Linked DNA regions of Homo sapiens: region 2 is linked to region 1. The links are contacts of gene promoters, found by promoter capture Hi-C in blood cells and fetal thymus (Javierre and others, 2016). All regions are on one chromosome and are shown on one strand. The core of a region is centred on a gene start or on the middle of the fragment in contact, and the rest is flanking DNA. Distances in the headings are between cores, read along the strand shown. Region 1 holds the start of SELL (selectin L). Region 2 overlaps BLZF1 (basic leucine zipper nuclear factor 1).

The links. Contacts are between HindIII fragments. The CHiCAGO score rates a contact against its expected background, and 5 or more counts as called.
Region 2: a fragment that was not itself captured here is called in contact with the fragment with the promoter of SELL in region 1 in 1 of 17 cell types (neutrophils); the score reaches 5.5 in neutrophils.

The regions. Positions count from the first base shown.
Region 1 is chr1:169,709,316-169,716,227 of GRCh38, reverse strand. It overlaps SELL (selectin L), which reads left to right and starts at 4,608. Exons shown (of 9, transcript NM_000655.5): 1 at 4,608-4,732; 2 at 5,711-5,792. The coding sequence starts at 4,730. The HindIII fragment of the contact is 5,813 bases long and covers 2,968-6,912 here.
Region 2 is chr1:169,369,704-169,376,615 of GRCh38, reverse strand. BLZF1 (basic leucine zipper nuclear factor 1) reads right to left here. Exons shown (of 7, transcript NM_001320973.2): 3 at 1-76. Among named protein-coding and RNA genes, the nearest start is that of BLZF1, 5.0 kb to the right of the region's middle. The HindIII fragment of the contact is 3,501 bases long and covers 1,369-4,869 here.

The DNA.
Region 1 (6,912 bases), core at 3,359-5,858:
GAGGATGGAGAATAGGCTGTTTGTGTTAGTGAAGTGTAGGACCTTGGTGAGAGCAGTCTCAGGGAATTGGTGTGGCTGAAAGCCTGATTGGACAAGCTTCAAGACAGAATTACAGCCTGAGCAACATAGTGAGATCCTGTCTCTACAAAAATAAAAAATAAAAAAATTAGTCGAGGGTTGGGGCATGTGCCTGTAGTCTTAGCTACATGGGAGGCTGAGGGAGAAGGGGCACTAGACCCTAGGATTCCTTGAGTGCAATGAGCTATGATCGCACCACTGCACTCTAGCCTGAGTGACAGAGCAGCATTCCCATCTCTTAGAGAAAGAGAGAGAGAGATTGAGAGAATTAGAGGAGAGGACTTAGAAAAAAGTAAGTCTAGATACTTCTTTCAGGGTATAGTGGGAGCACTGGCACTTTCACAAGTCTCCCTGGCTCCACGTTTTTCCCCATTTTACCATGTCTTCCAAGTTCCTGCCATAAGTTCAGCTTAATGATCAAGAGCATGGATTTGGAACTGATTGGCCTCTGTTCAAATTCCCAACCATGTCTCTTACTAGTTATGTGACTAAGGCAACTTTCTTTTTTTAAACTTTTTTTAAATTATACTTTAATTTCTGGGATACATGAGCAGAACGTGCAGGTTTGTTACATAGGTATACATGTGCCATGGTGGTTTGCTGCATTCATCAACCTGTCATCTACATTAGGTATTTCTCCTAATGCTGTTCCTCCCCTAGCCCCACATCCCCTGACATGCCCCAGTGTGTGATGTTCCCCTCCCTGTGTCCATGTGTTCTCATTGTTCAACTCCCACTTATGAGTGAGAATGGGTAATGTTTGGTTTTCTGTTCCAGTGTTAGTTTGCTGAGAATGACGGTTTCCAGCTTCATCCATGTCCCTGCAAAGGACATGAACTCATCCTTTTTTATGGCTGTATAGTATTCCATGATGTATATGTGCCACATCATCTTTATCCAGTTTATCATTGGTGGGCATTTGGGTTGGTTCCAACTCTTTGCTGTTGTGAATAGTGCCTCAATAAACATAAGTGTGCATGTGTCTTTATCGTAGAATGATTTATAATCCTTTGGGTATATACCCAGTAATGGGATTGCTGGGTCAAATGGTTTTTCTAGTTATAGATCCTTGAGAAATCGCCACATTGTCTTCCACAATGATTGAACTAATTTACACTTCCACCAACACTGTAAAAAGCATTCTTATTTCTCCACATCCTCTCCAGCATCTGTTGTTTCCTGACTTTTTAATAATCGCCATTCTAACTGGCATGAGATGGCATCTCATTGTGGTTTTGATTTGCATTTCTCTAATGACCAGTGATGATGAGCTTTTTTTCATATGTTTGTTGACTGCATAAACTTCTTCTTTTGAGAAGCATCTGTTCATATCCTTCACTCACTTTTTGATGGTGTTGTTTGTTTTTTCTTGTAAATTTGTTTAAGTTTCTTGTAGATTTTGGATATTAGCCCTTTGTCAGGTGAATAGATTGCAAAAATTTTCTCCCATTCTGTAGGTTTCCTGTTCACTTTGATGATAGTTTTTTTTTTTCTACTGTGCAGAAGCTCTTTAGTTTAATTAGATCCCATTTGTCAATTTTGGCTTTTGTTGCTGTTGCTTTTGGTGTTTTAGTCATGAAGTCTTTGCCCATACCTACGTCCTGAATGGTATTGCCTAGGTTTTCTCCTAGAATTTTTATGGTTTTAGGTCTTCCATTTAAGTCTTTAATCCATCTTGAGTTAATTTTTATATAAGGTGTAAGGAAGGGATCCAGTTTCAGTTTTCTGCATATGGCTAGCCAGTTTTCCCAACATCATTTATTAAATGGGGAATCCTTTCCCAATTGCTTCTTTTTGTCAGCTTTGTCAAAGATCAGATGGTTGTAGATGTGTGGTGTTATTTCTGATGCCTCTGTTCTGTTCCGTTGGTCCATATATCTGTTTTTGTACCAGCACCATGCTGTTTTGGTTACTATAGCCTTGTAGTATAGTTTGAAGTCAGGTAGCATGATGCCTCCAGCTTTGTTCTTTTTGCTTAGGATTGTCTTGGCTATACAAGCTCTTTTTTGGTTCCATATGAAATTTAAAGTAGTTTTTTTCTAATTCTGTGAAAAAAGTCAGTAGTAGCTTGATGGGGATAGCACTGAATCTATAAATTACCTTGGGCAGTATGGTCATTTTCATGATATTGATTCTTCCTACCCATGAGCATGGAATGTTTTTCCATTCATTTGTGTCCTCTCTTATTTCCTTGAGCAGTGGTTTGTAGTTCTCCTTGAATAGGTCCTTCACATTCCTTGTAAGTTGGATTCCTAGGTATTTTATTCTCTTTGTAGCAATCGTGAATGGGAGTTCACTCATGATTTGGCTCTCTGTTTGTCTATTATTGCTGTATAGGAATTCTTGTGATTTTTTCACATTGATTTTGTAACCTGAGACTTTGCTGAAGTTGCTGATCAGTTTAAGGAGATTTTGGGCTGAGACAATGGGATTTTCTAAATATACAATCATGTCATCTGCAAACAGACACAATTTGACTTCCTCTCTTCTATTTGAATACACTTTATTTCTTTCTCTTGCCTGATTGCCCTGGCCAGAACTTCCAATACTATGTTGAACAGGAGTGGTGAGAGAGGCATACTTGTCTTGTGCCAGTTTTTAAAGGGAACGCTTTCAGTTTTTGCCCATTCAGTATGCTATTGGCTGTGGGTTTGTCATAAATAGCTCTTATTATTTTGAGATACGTTCCATCAATACCTAGTTTATTGAGAGTTTTTAGCATGAAGGGGTGTTGAATTTTATCCAAGGCCTTTTCTGCATCTATTGAGATAATCACGTGGTTTTTGTGATTGGTTCTGTTTACGTAATGGATTCTGTTTATTGATTTGTGTATGTTGAACCAGCCTTGCATTCCAGGGATGAAGCCAACTTGATTGTGGTTGATAAGCTTTTTGATGTGCTGCTGGATTCAGTTTGCCGTATTTTATTGAGTATTTTCGCAATGATGTTCATCAGGGATATTGGCCTGAAATTTTCTTTTTTTGTTGTGTCTCTGCCAGGTTTTAGTATCAGGATGATGCTGGCCTCATAAAATGAGTGAGGGAGGAGTTCCTCTTTTTCTATTCTCTGGAATAGTTTCAGAAGGAATGGTACCAGCACCTCTTTGTACCTCTGGTAGAATTTGGCTGTGAATCCATCTGGTCCTGGGCTTTTTTTAGTTGGTAGGCTATTAATTGCTGCCTTAATTTCAGAACTTGTTATTAGTCTATTCAGGGATTTGACTTCTTCCTGGTTTAGTCTTGGGAGGGTGTATGTGTCCAGGAATTTATCCATTTCTTCTAGATTTTCTAGTTTATTTGTGTAAAGATGTTTATAGTAATCTCTGATGGTAGTTTGTATTTCTACGGGATCAGTGGTAATATCCCCTTTACCATTTTTTATTGTGTCTATTGATTCTTCTTTCTTATTAGTCTAGCTAGTGGTCCATCTATTTTGTTAATCTTTTCAAAATGCAGCTCCTGGATTTATTGATTTTTTGAAGGCTTTTTCGTGTCTCTACCTCCTATGGTTCTGCTCTGATCTTAGTTATTTCTTGTCTTTCGCTAGTTTTTGAATTTGTTTCTTAACCTCTTTGAGACTCTTTAGAATGGGGATAATAATCATATCTATAGCAGAGAGCTGTTATAAAGATTAAACAATATAATAAATATGGGGCGCTGAGCTTCAGAGTTTTTGTTGTTGTTATTATTATTTTCCTAAAAATGCAAATCTGATTTGCATTTGACTCATTGACTCACATCAGTGGGTCTTCCTTTTTATTGTCCTTCATCATATGGGTCCTAATTTCACATGCAGTCTTATAAAACCATCTCATTTTATAGTCCAAGAATATTAAAGGTACTTGTAGGCTCCCAAACCTACACGGTGAAAAGCTAGAGAGCATGGGCTCTCTTCAGGGGTTAACTTCAGGAAGTGCCACTAACAAGGACGTCCACTAGGTGGTGAGCAAGGAAAGACGGAGGTGAAGGAACCGAAACGAGTCAAGTCCACTGCTTAGCTCTACTGAAGTTTTGCAAACATCATAAATATGTCTGAAATGCAGTTTTGATTTGTAGTATTTGCAATTTCCAAGGGCCATTTACCACAGGTAGCCAAGAGTTAGTTTAGCATTTATGAAAAAGATAGGGGAGGGTGGTGGAAAAGAAGGAGGAGGAGGAGAGAGAGAAGGAGGAAGAGGAGAACAAGAACCAAACAAAAACAAGAACAAGAACAAGTAGAAGAAGAGGAGCAGGAGGAAAAAGAAGAGGAAGAAGAACAGCAACAACAATGAGTGAAGGAGGAGGAGGGTAAGGAAAGATGCATAGGAGAATGGAAGGAAGGATAGAAAGGAGGGAAGGAAGAGAGAATCTAGTCACATTACTTTCTGATCAGCAGTTCATTTTTGTCTCAGTGGGAGGCAATAGAGGCCAGTCTAGGAAAGGGGTGGGGAAAGAGGAAAGAGAAGTGCAGGAGGAAGGGGAGGGAAAAGGGGAGGAGGAGGAGGATGTGAGACTGGGTTAGAGAAATGAAAGAAAGCAAGGCTTTCTGTTGACATTCAGTGCAGTCTACCTGCAGCACAGCACACTCCCTTTGGGCAAGGACCTGAGACCCTTGTGCTAAGTCAAGAGGCTCAATGGGCTGCAGAAGAACTAGAGAAGGACCAAGCAAAGCCATGGTGAGCCTTTCAGCCTAAAAGACGTTTAGATGCTCAGATAGAAACTCTTGGGGTTGTAGAGGCAGGTGGCAAGGATAGGAATCACCCCATTTCAATTCTGGTTTTAAATAATATAGAAACTAAACATTTTCTCAGACCCTCAAAAAAAGTGATCCTGAAATCTTTCTTCTCAGATATGCTGATTTCCTCTTCTTGACTTTGTCTCTGGGGAGACTCTTGAAGAAATACTATTGAAATCAGATCTTTTGCAATAAACACTGTGTCTACCTGAGAAGTGATATGCTTTGGAAGATAGAATTTTTTTAAAATTATACTTTAAGTTCTAGGGTACATGTGCACAACATACAGGTTTGTCACACATGTATACATGTGCCATGTTGGTGTGCTGCACCCATTAACTCGTCATTTACATTAAGTATATTTTAAGGTGTGCAGGAAATTTGTGACTTTGTCATTTCAGTTGCTCAAAAAGGTATTTCTTTTTATTAAAAAAAGAAATACTTTTCTTTCCTGGTGTCTGGCTATCTAATTTTTTTTTTTTTTAGGTATTTGAGGCATTGACCCATTATGATCAAGAGTGAGGCTATAACATTAAATATAAGCATCAATAGTTAATTAAGCAGCAACAATACTTTAAAAAATATACATAGTAAATATTAAATAGTTTTATCTAATAGCTCAGCAGAAAAGCAGGTATAAAAATTACCAAACCATAGAAAAAATTCAGGGCAGTACCGATTAGCAACTTGAGACTAAAGCGTAAAAATAAAATAGAACAAAACAAAACTGTGCATCAGTTCTGATGTAAATTTGAAGTAATTTTTCATCTATGTCTGAGAAACCTGTTACCTCAGACAGGGTTAGTAGACATATGTGTTTTATTCTGATTATTAAGAAAGTTGTAAGCACCACCTCAAAGGCTATAAATGTGTGGTTTAAGAGTATACATCTAAATATAATTTTGTATTTCATTTGCAGATATTTCCATGGAAATGTCAGAGCACCCAGAGGGACTTATGGAACATCTTCAAGTTGTGGGGGTGGACAATGCTCTGTTGTGGTATGTTATGATATTTATATATCGCTAAGTCTATTTTACTTATATTCATTTTTCTTAAATATCCACTAGTTATACATAGTCTAAGGGAAAATTATTTCACAGAGCTGTTAATTCTATCCCTTCTGTAAACATCTCTTTTCTTCTTACCTTTAGTTCTTCCCCAGAAACTCCTGAACACTATTTTTAACCTATAATAGCCCATGCTGTAGAGTTCAAATCCCAATAACCCCACAAAATCCCTCAATTATAAAGGAATAATGTTAATTAAGAAATCTCTGTTAAGGTACTTACAATCTGTACCAAATATTTAGCACCTCATTTTCTATTTTTTATTCATAGTTCAGTGTACATTAATGTCATTTCTACAATTACAATACGAGCTTATTAAGGGACGGGGGTTTATCATTTTTTGGTCCTTCTCCCATTGTTGTGACAAATTTTATATCTGATTCTTGAAGACTCTCCAGCAATAGCTTTGAACTTGGTTTTTCATTTCCTAAGTAAACTAATGTCTTCTTTCTCCCTAGCCTGGATTTTCAGCTCTAGCCAAGCAAACATGCTAACTCTCCCGTTCACACATTCCTTATGCCATGTCTGCACTGTGTCACATAGAAACTTAGTGCTCTTTTCATACAACAGGTATTTTCTGAGTCCCTACAATGTGTGAAATTTATGCTAGGCACTAAGGATACAGCAGTGGACACAACAGTTTTTTCCCTCTTAGAACTTGCATTCTAGTGGAATGCTCATTCAAAACTCTGTTCAAAATGTTTATTTTATGATGCTCTTTACCATCAATTATATCTGTTTCTTTACTGTATTAAATAGTGATTCATGTAGATCATACCATGCTTAGAATGCCATATATTATTATGAAGTCATTGTGTAATTATGTGTTTAATTAGATATCTTCAAAGCCCTCATATTTGATGGGTCCATATGTTTATTAAACATCATCAGTTGAGTCTCTTTGTGTATAGAACATGATCTAATGAATTTCATAATCCTATACCATTTGGCTTTGTAAATTGTTCTTTTTAAAAATTATACAGTTAGATATATAAGAGTTGAGTGGTATATTGGGCTTTTCCAGAAGCAGTTCTTCCTATGGTAAAATAAA
Region 2 (6,912 bases), core at 1,870-4,369, 340 kb after region 1:
ACTTCAACAGATTTAGGTGGTTCCTCAGTTTCCATTCCATCTCCTGCTCCTCGGATTGGGGATGAAGTAACGGTGACTAACAAAAAGGAAACAAAACAGAAACTACTTACCAAGAAGAAATGCCAAGAAAATGCTAATACATGCTATACCCTATATTCAAAATTACTGGCACTAAAAAGAATGCAAAAAAAAAATCAGAGAAAAAGTAATTTTCAAAACAATCATGTGTCAACAAAAGATACATGTTTAAACTTTCCTTCAGTAGACAAGAGATTTGGAATCAGAATATTTGGTTCTGACTTTTACTTTCTAGTATAACCCTGGGTAAATAATTTAATCTTCCATGAATCTCTATTTCCTAATTTGCAAAACGGAGATCATAACAACTTTGCTATAGAATTTTGGTAAGAAAAAATGTAATAAGATGAAATGCTTGGCATACTGTAGACACTCAATAATGTTAGTTAAAATAAATGTCAGCTATATAGATGCATATTTGAAACCATCTACATCATAAGAGATTCATCTGTTTTGTGAACTCTTGGAGTAAGAGGAAGCAACATATATGTTACACCGAAAAATTTATTAAGAAAAGATTCAATCCTATTCTTAGGCCTAACAGTTTATGTCCTGCTTACACAAGTGAAACTACACTGGATTGTCAGATTAAACATCCTTATACCTCACTTTCACCATATCATACCCAAATTCTTTTATTGTTCTCTCATTCCCTCTAGTGGCTTTCAATTTATTTTGAGTGCACTGTATTCCCAATAAAATGCCTTGCATGTAGTGTGTGTGTATATATATATATATGTATATATGTTATAAACAATAAATGAATGATAACAAGGGGAGGGACAAAAGACGAGCACACAGATCAGTAACAATGGTTATAATGATGAACTCTGAGTGGTCACGGGCAGCAAACATGATGCTGGGTACCTAATGAAGGCTAGACATTCTATGAGGTAAGACCACTATGCTTAAGAAATTTACTACCTAATTTAGGGGACAGAACATACATATAAAAAGATAAAATGTATTACAGGATAATATATAATAAGTGTGCAGGTAAGTGGTATAAAAATATTTCAATAGAAATTTTATGTCTATAGAAACATTAAGGACAATCATGAACTACTGATTGGTCTTCAGTGAATTCATCACTGTCCAGCCAGACCATATATATATATATATATATATATATATATATATATATGTTTTATATATATATGTTTTATATGTATATATGTTTTTTATATATATGTTTTATATATATATGTGTGTGTGTAATGTAATCTCCTAAAACAAAGACTTAAAACAGAATTCCTTTTATACTTGTAACAGTAATAAATTTCGTAAGCTTAACATATTTTTTATTTTATGGCTAGAATATATTCCCTTCAAGTTAATATAGCATTTACTTTCTTATTCTACTGTTGAATATTTAGACTCTTTACAATTTTTCACTATAATAAATAAGGCTTTATTGAACACTTTTATGCCTACATATTTTTCTTAACTTCTGAGTTATTTTTTCAAATAAATTCCCAAGCATAAAATTAATGGGTTTGGTGAAGATCTGTACGGCCGAAATGCCTTCGAAAATCACTCTACCAGTGTATCTGTGGATCTATGCCTAATATCCTTACTATTTATTTATTTGCATGCTCAATACCTATGATTTATATTGTACTTAAAAATAAATAAGAATACATGTAAACTGTTTAGAATGGTATTTGACACAGTAAGCACTCATTAAATGTTAGGTCCTATTGCTTTTATTATTCTTTAAATAAATTCCTAATAAACTTTGGATGTTGATATAGACAGAAATAAAGTTAATTTATTTAATGCCATAAAATACAATTCTGACTTTCATTCTGTTATGTAAATCTTAAAGTTATATTGCTAGACTATAGGACTATTTATTCAAGTAACAGATTTACTTTTTTCAAATTTTTCCCATGTAGAAATGTTCTGGGAACCTCGAGTTATGTTAATTAGACAGGAGGTGGAAACATAGCTGAGGTATAATTAATGTGTTCTATTTTACAAAACATTTTACATTAGAATAAAATCGTGTCATTTCCATATGAAATGTAAACTAAGTTTAAACACCCCTTGGGCCTTGGGATTGACTCTACTTTTAAAAAGATAAACAAAGGAATACTTCAGAAAGTGAAATAAAGGCCTAACATGCTGGGTTTGGTAAATTAGTTAAAACAAAGCATGGTAGCACTGACAAGGAGAACTTCCACTGAATCATTTAAAAACAGCTTACTGCAGCCTTGACTTCCTGGGCTCAGGTGATCCTCCCACCTCAGCCTCCCAAGTAGATGGGACTACAGGCATGTGCCACCATGACCAAATAATTTTTTGTATTTTTTTTGTATTTTTTTTTTTTTTTGTAGAGACAGGGTTTCATCATGTTGTCCAGAATGGTCTTGAAATCCTAGGCTCAAGCAATTCTCTGGCCTCAGCCTCCCAAAGTGCTTGGATTACAGATGTGAGCCATCACACCCAGCTACCTGTATTCTTAAAATCTGATTTTAAGTTTGTCTAAACTTAACTAACTTGTCTAATCTTGTCAATAAGACATTCTGGCATTTAAGAAGTAACACAGAATCATGTATTAACTATAAATTAATAAAAACCATCAACAATAAAAACACGCACTACAGCCATGGTTCAGGCCCACTGAGGCTGAGGAAATAAAAAACAGGTGTGATACTTCCATTATGGTCAAATAAAATTTCTAGGCAAGCTGTAACATTTTTGAGTTGGAATTTTAAGTAACAGAGATTCAAGAACAAATTACAAAATGATTAAAGTTAAATTTAAAAGGCAAAGAACCATTAATAGGTATTTAACAGAAATCTCTTTTTGAACAAAATACCTTGTTGGAAAATCAAGAAGTTCAACCAACTTGTTTCCACCCCAATTTACTCTTAACTTTATTTAAACTGTTCTACTTACTCAAGCATTTATGAATATCAAAGTTGTATTATATATTACGTGAGAGCTCCCGCTCAGTAATAACTATGATTCTAGCTAATGTGCATAGGTAAACAGGCCGTAAGAGCCAGGGCTTAACATTTTCTCACCTGGTAACTTTCGTAATTCGATTTTTCCTTGTGACATACCTAGAAACCTTTATTACATATGCAGTAGGCACAATCCAGGACACATTTACGAATAATTACCTTCTCTCAATTGGGAAGACAAGGACCTATGGTAACAGCTCCATAATTATGAGTAACGCTTAAGTCAAGAAAAACACCAATCCTTATTCTTCCCCACTATTTGAAGGGAACCAACAAAACAATCCTTAAATTATTCATCATCATTACTTCCACCTGTGATCAATTATCAATGAATTAAAACATATCTAAGGTTTGCTCATTCGTATTGCCTACCAGGATTGGTGAAATGTAGGGAAAGAACAAAGAAGGTCACTAGTCTAACATTCTAGGATGGGAGCTGGCAAACTTTTTCTGTAAAGGACCAGAGAGTAAATATTTTAGGCTTTGTGAACCAAAAGGTAAAATTGAGGATACCATGTAAGTATTTAATAAGAGAAAAAAAATTTATTGATGAAATTCAAACTATAACAACAATAATTGAAAACAATTTTTTGATAACATAGGTCTAATAATGGGAAGAACAGATTTTTTTTTAATTCAGGATAATGTTTGGCTTAAATAGTGTTAATGTCCACTATTATCAAACTGATTGCAGATATTCTCAGGAGGCTGAGGGCCACAATTTGCCAACCCTTGCTCTAGAATATTGAGGCAAAAAAAAATTTATTGTCTGTCATTGAACAAATATTTCTCTTTTATTCATAAAACTTCAATCTATGATGAGAGGTACTCTAAGTCAGCAGAATGGGGTAGTGAAAAGAAATCTAACTCACTAGAGCCTGAGTTAAAATAACTTAAGTCCCTACTGCCATGTATTGTGTGACCTTGGACAAAGCACTTAACCTCATCCTCCTCCCATCCCTTGGTGCTTTCAGAGTAATGCAAACATGGTAGTATATATTTTAAAAATAATTTGTTTCTCTTGTAGACTAGACTGTTGGGAGCTCTTCAGGGTATGGACCGCCTCCTAATCTTTGTGTCATGAACTAATAAAATGGTCCTTGTCACAGAGAAAATGAATAAATGCTTACTGAAGCTCATTAGTCTGTTAATACACTACCTAGAGTGTTTCATTTTTAACATCCAAAAACTAACCCATTTAAAAACTGCTTTATTTTTTTTCCTCTACCCTAAATCATTAATTCCTAACTTGGTTATAGTCTGAAAGACTTTCCAGAACATATACAAATTCAGCTATGATACAGTTAAACAAATTAGGGATTGTCATGTGGTAATTTTAAATCAAGAGTCTTTTTAAATGTCACCCATATCACCTAATAAAGTTTAGTTATTATTAAATTAGTAAAATAAGTTACATACAATGGACTTAAGAGTAACATCGAGATTTACTGAAGTGGAATCTAAGCATTCTTCTTACCACAGGCTCTATGGATAGAGATCCCTGGTCAAATAAGTGTGGGCAATGTTGCATACTGCATCTCTACAGAGTTTCAATGTACATTAGTATTAAAGTTATACTATAGGACTCTGAGAGGTCCCATAGTATAGCCTCTCTTTTAATACAGCATTTATCAAATTTATCTGCTCATGGAATATCTTTTTTACCTAACACCTATTATTCTACAGAACTAGTGTTAGACTATTTTATGGAATCAAAAATATTTAAATGTCTCAGACCTTTCTATTTGGTCTACTATTACTAAACTAGTTGACTTTAATAGCTTTATTTTCAATTTTAATCCCACATCCAAGAAAAGCTTTGGATTTTAAGTTTCTAATTGTTACTATTTACTGTATGTTTCCCTTTCAGAAACAGCACTAGCAGCCATGATACAACCCTCTTATGATGACAGTGCTGCTCAAATGTCTTCTGAGAGGAAGTTCTGTTGCTATACCAAACAACCGTACTTATCTCCTGAGGCAGTTACAGGAAGCACAGACAACTGACAAATGTCAACCAAGTACACCTTTTCACAGGCCATGCAATACAAGTAACTTTTGTTCACTAACATCAGATGACAGATTAAATAGAAATATGGCTAATAGAATTATTTTCCTTACTGGATAATTAAGATCACACAAAATAATGTTTGTTAAAGTGCCTTATAACTCTAATCCTCATTAAAAACAAGTAATAATAAATATTAAAAAGTAATTTAATTTCACAGAGAACTTGCCAGTACTTCTAATGACTAATCATAATATTGTATTTAGTTTTTGCTTTTTGACAAGCACCATGTTGGTTGCTTTCACATTAATTATTTAACTGCTCTTATTTCCCATTAATCCCCAGTTTATTACTTTCATTACAGTCTCTGACTTGCTTATCTAATGGTATAAAAGCCTTCTGGTGACTTATGAAATGCTGTTGCAAAGCTGAATTAAATTCAATTAAATATTTATTAGCATGATCTTTCTTCCTTGTTTCTTAAACTTATTTCAACCTGCTTTTAGAGAGGGTTTGTGGCTGGAGGTCAGTTTGCTGAAAAATTGGCATCTAGAAAACAGTTTTCCATCTTTAACTGATGGTTCTAGCATGCAGAACTCAACCCATCCAAAGAATAAGCTGGGTCAGGAGAAGTTCACTATGGGACATGTTAAAATTGTTGCCTACAGCTATGTGAAGATGGCCAGTAGGCAGTAGTCTATAAGGGTATGAATCATAAAGAAGGAGATTAGGGATATAGATAGATTTGGAAGTCATTTATATAGATAATTACTGAAGTCATGAGAGTAGAAAAGAAACAGTGGTGGAAAGTGTTGATATTTAAAAGATAAATAAGAAGGAGAAGAGGCTGAAAAAGAAAGAGAGAAGATACAGCTACAGCAGGGCTGTCCAACAGAATTTTCTTCAATGATTGAAATAGCTACTCGCCATATTTGCCTACCGACCACTTGAAGTTTGGCAAGCGTCATTGAGAAACTGAATTTTTAATTTTTAAAAAATATTAATTTAAATTCAAATAGCCACATGTAATTACCGCATTGGACAGTGAAAGGCTACAGAGTAGACTGAAAATAAAAGTGATGTCATGGAAGTCATCAAAAGAACGTATCTCAAAAGGCAGGGAATGGTCAACAGTATTAAATATTAGAGAGGACAAATCAGCTAGGACTAAAAAGTGACTACTGTATTTAGCAATTTAGGGGTTGAATTGTGTCCCCCAAATCTTTATTTGTTGAAGTACTAACCCCCCACTACCTCAGAATGAGACTTCATTTGGAAACAGGATCACTGCAGATGTAATTAGTTAAGATGAAATCATACAGGAGTAGACTGGGTTCCTTTTTTCAATATGACTGCTGTCTTTATAAAAAGGGTAAATTTAGACACAGAAACATGCACATAGGGAGAATGCCATGTGAATATGAAGGCGGAGATAAGGGTGGTACGTCTACAAGACAAGGAGCACCAAAGACTGCCAGCAAGCCACTGGAAGCTAGGAGAGTGTCTCTAATGCCTTCCGAAGGAGCACAGCCTTGTTGACATTTTCATCTTGGACTTCTAGCCTCCAGAACTGAGAGAATACATTTTGTTGTTCAAGCCATGCAGTTTGTGGTACTTTGTTACAGCAACCCCAGCAAACTAATACAACATGAAAGAGATCTTTGATACACCCTAGTTGCTTTGTCTATCTACTTAAATCTTTAAAATGTGTATTCTTATTTAAATCGTAATCTTCTAGTGTATAGGGAATATAGCTGTTAAAAACTTTGCATTAACATTAAATGTTTAAGAGTAGTCACCTAATAAATTCTAACTAATGATGTTAAATTTCACTTGTACATCTAAAGTACTGAA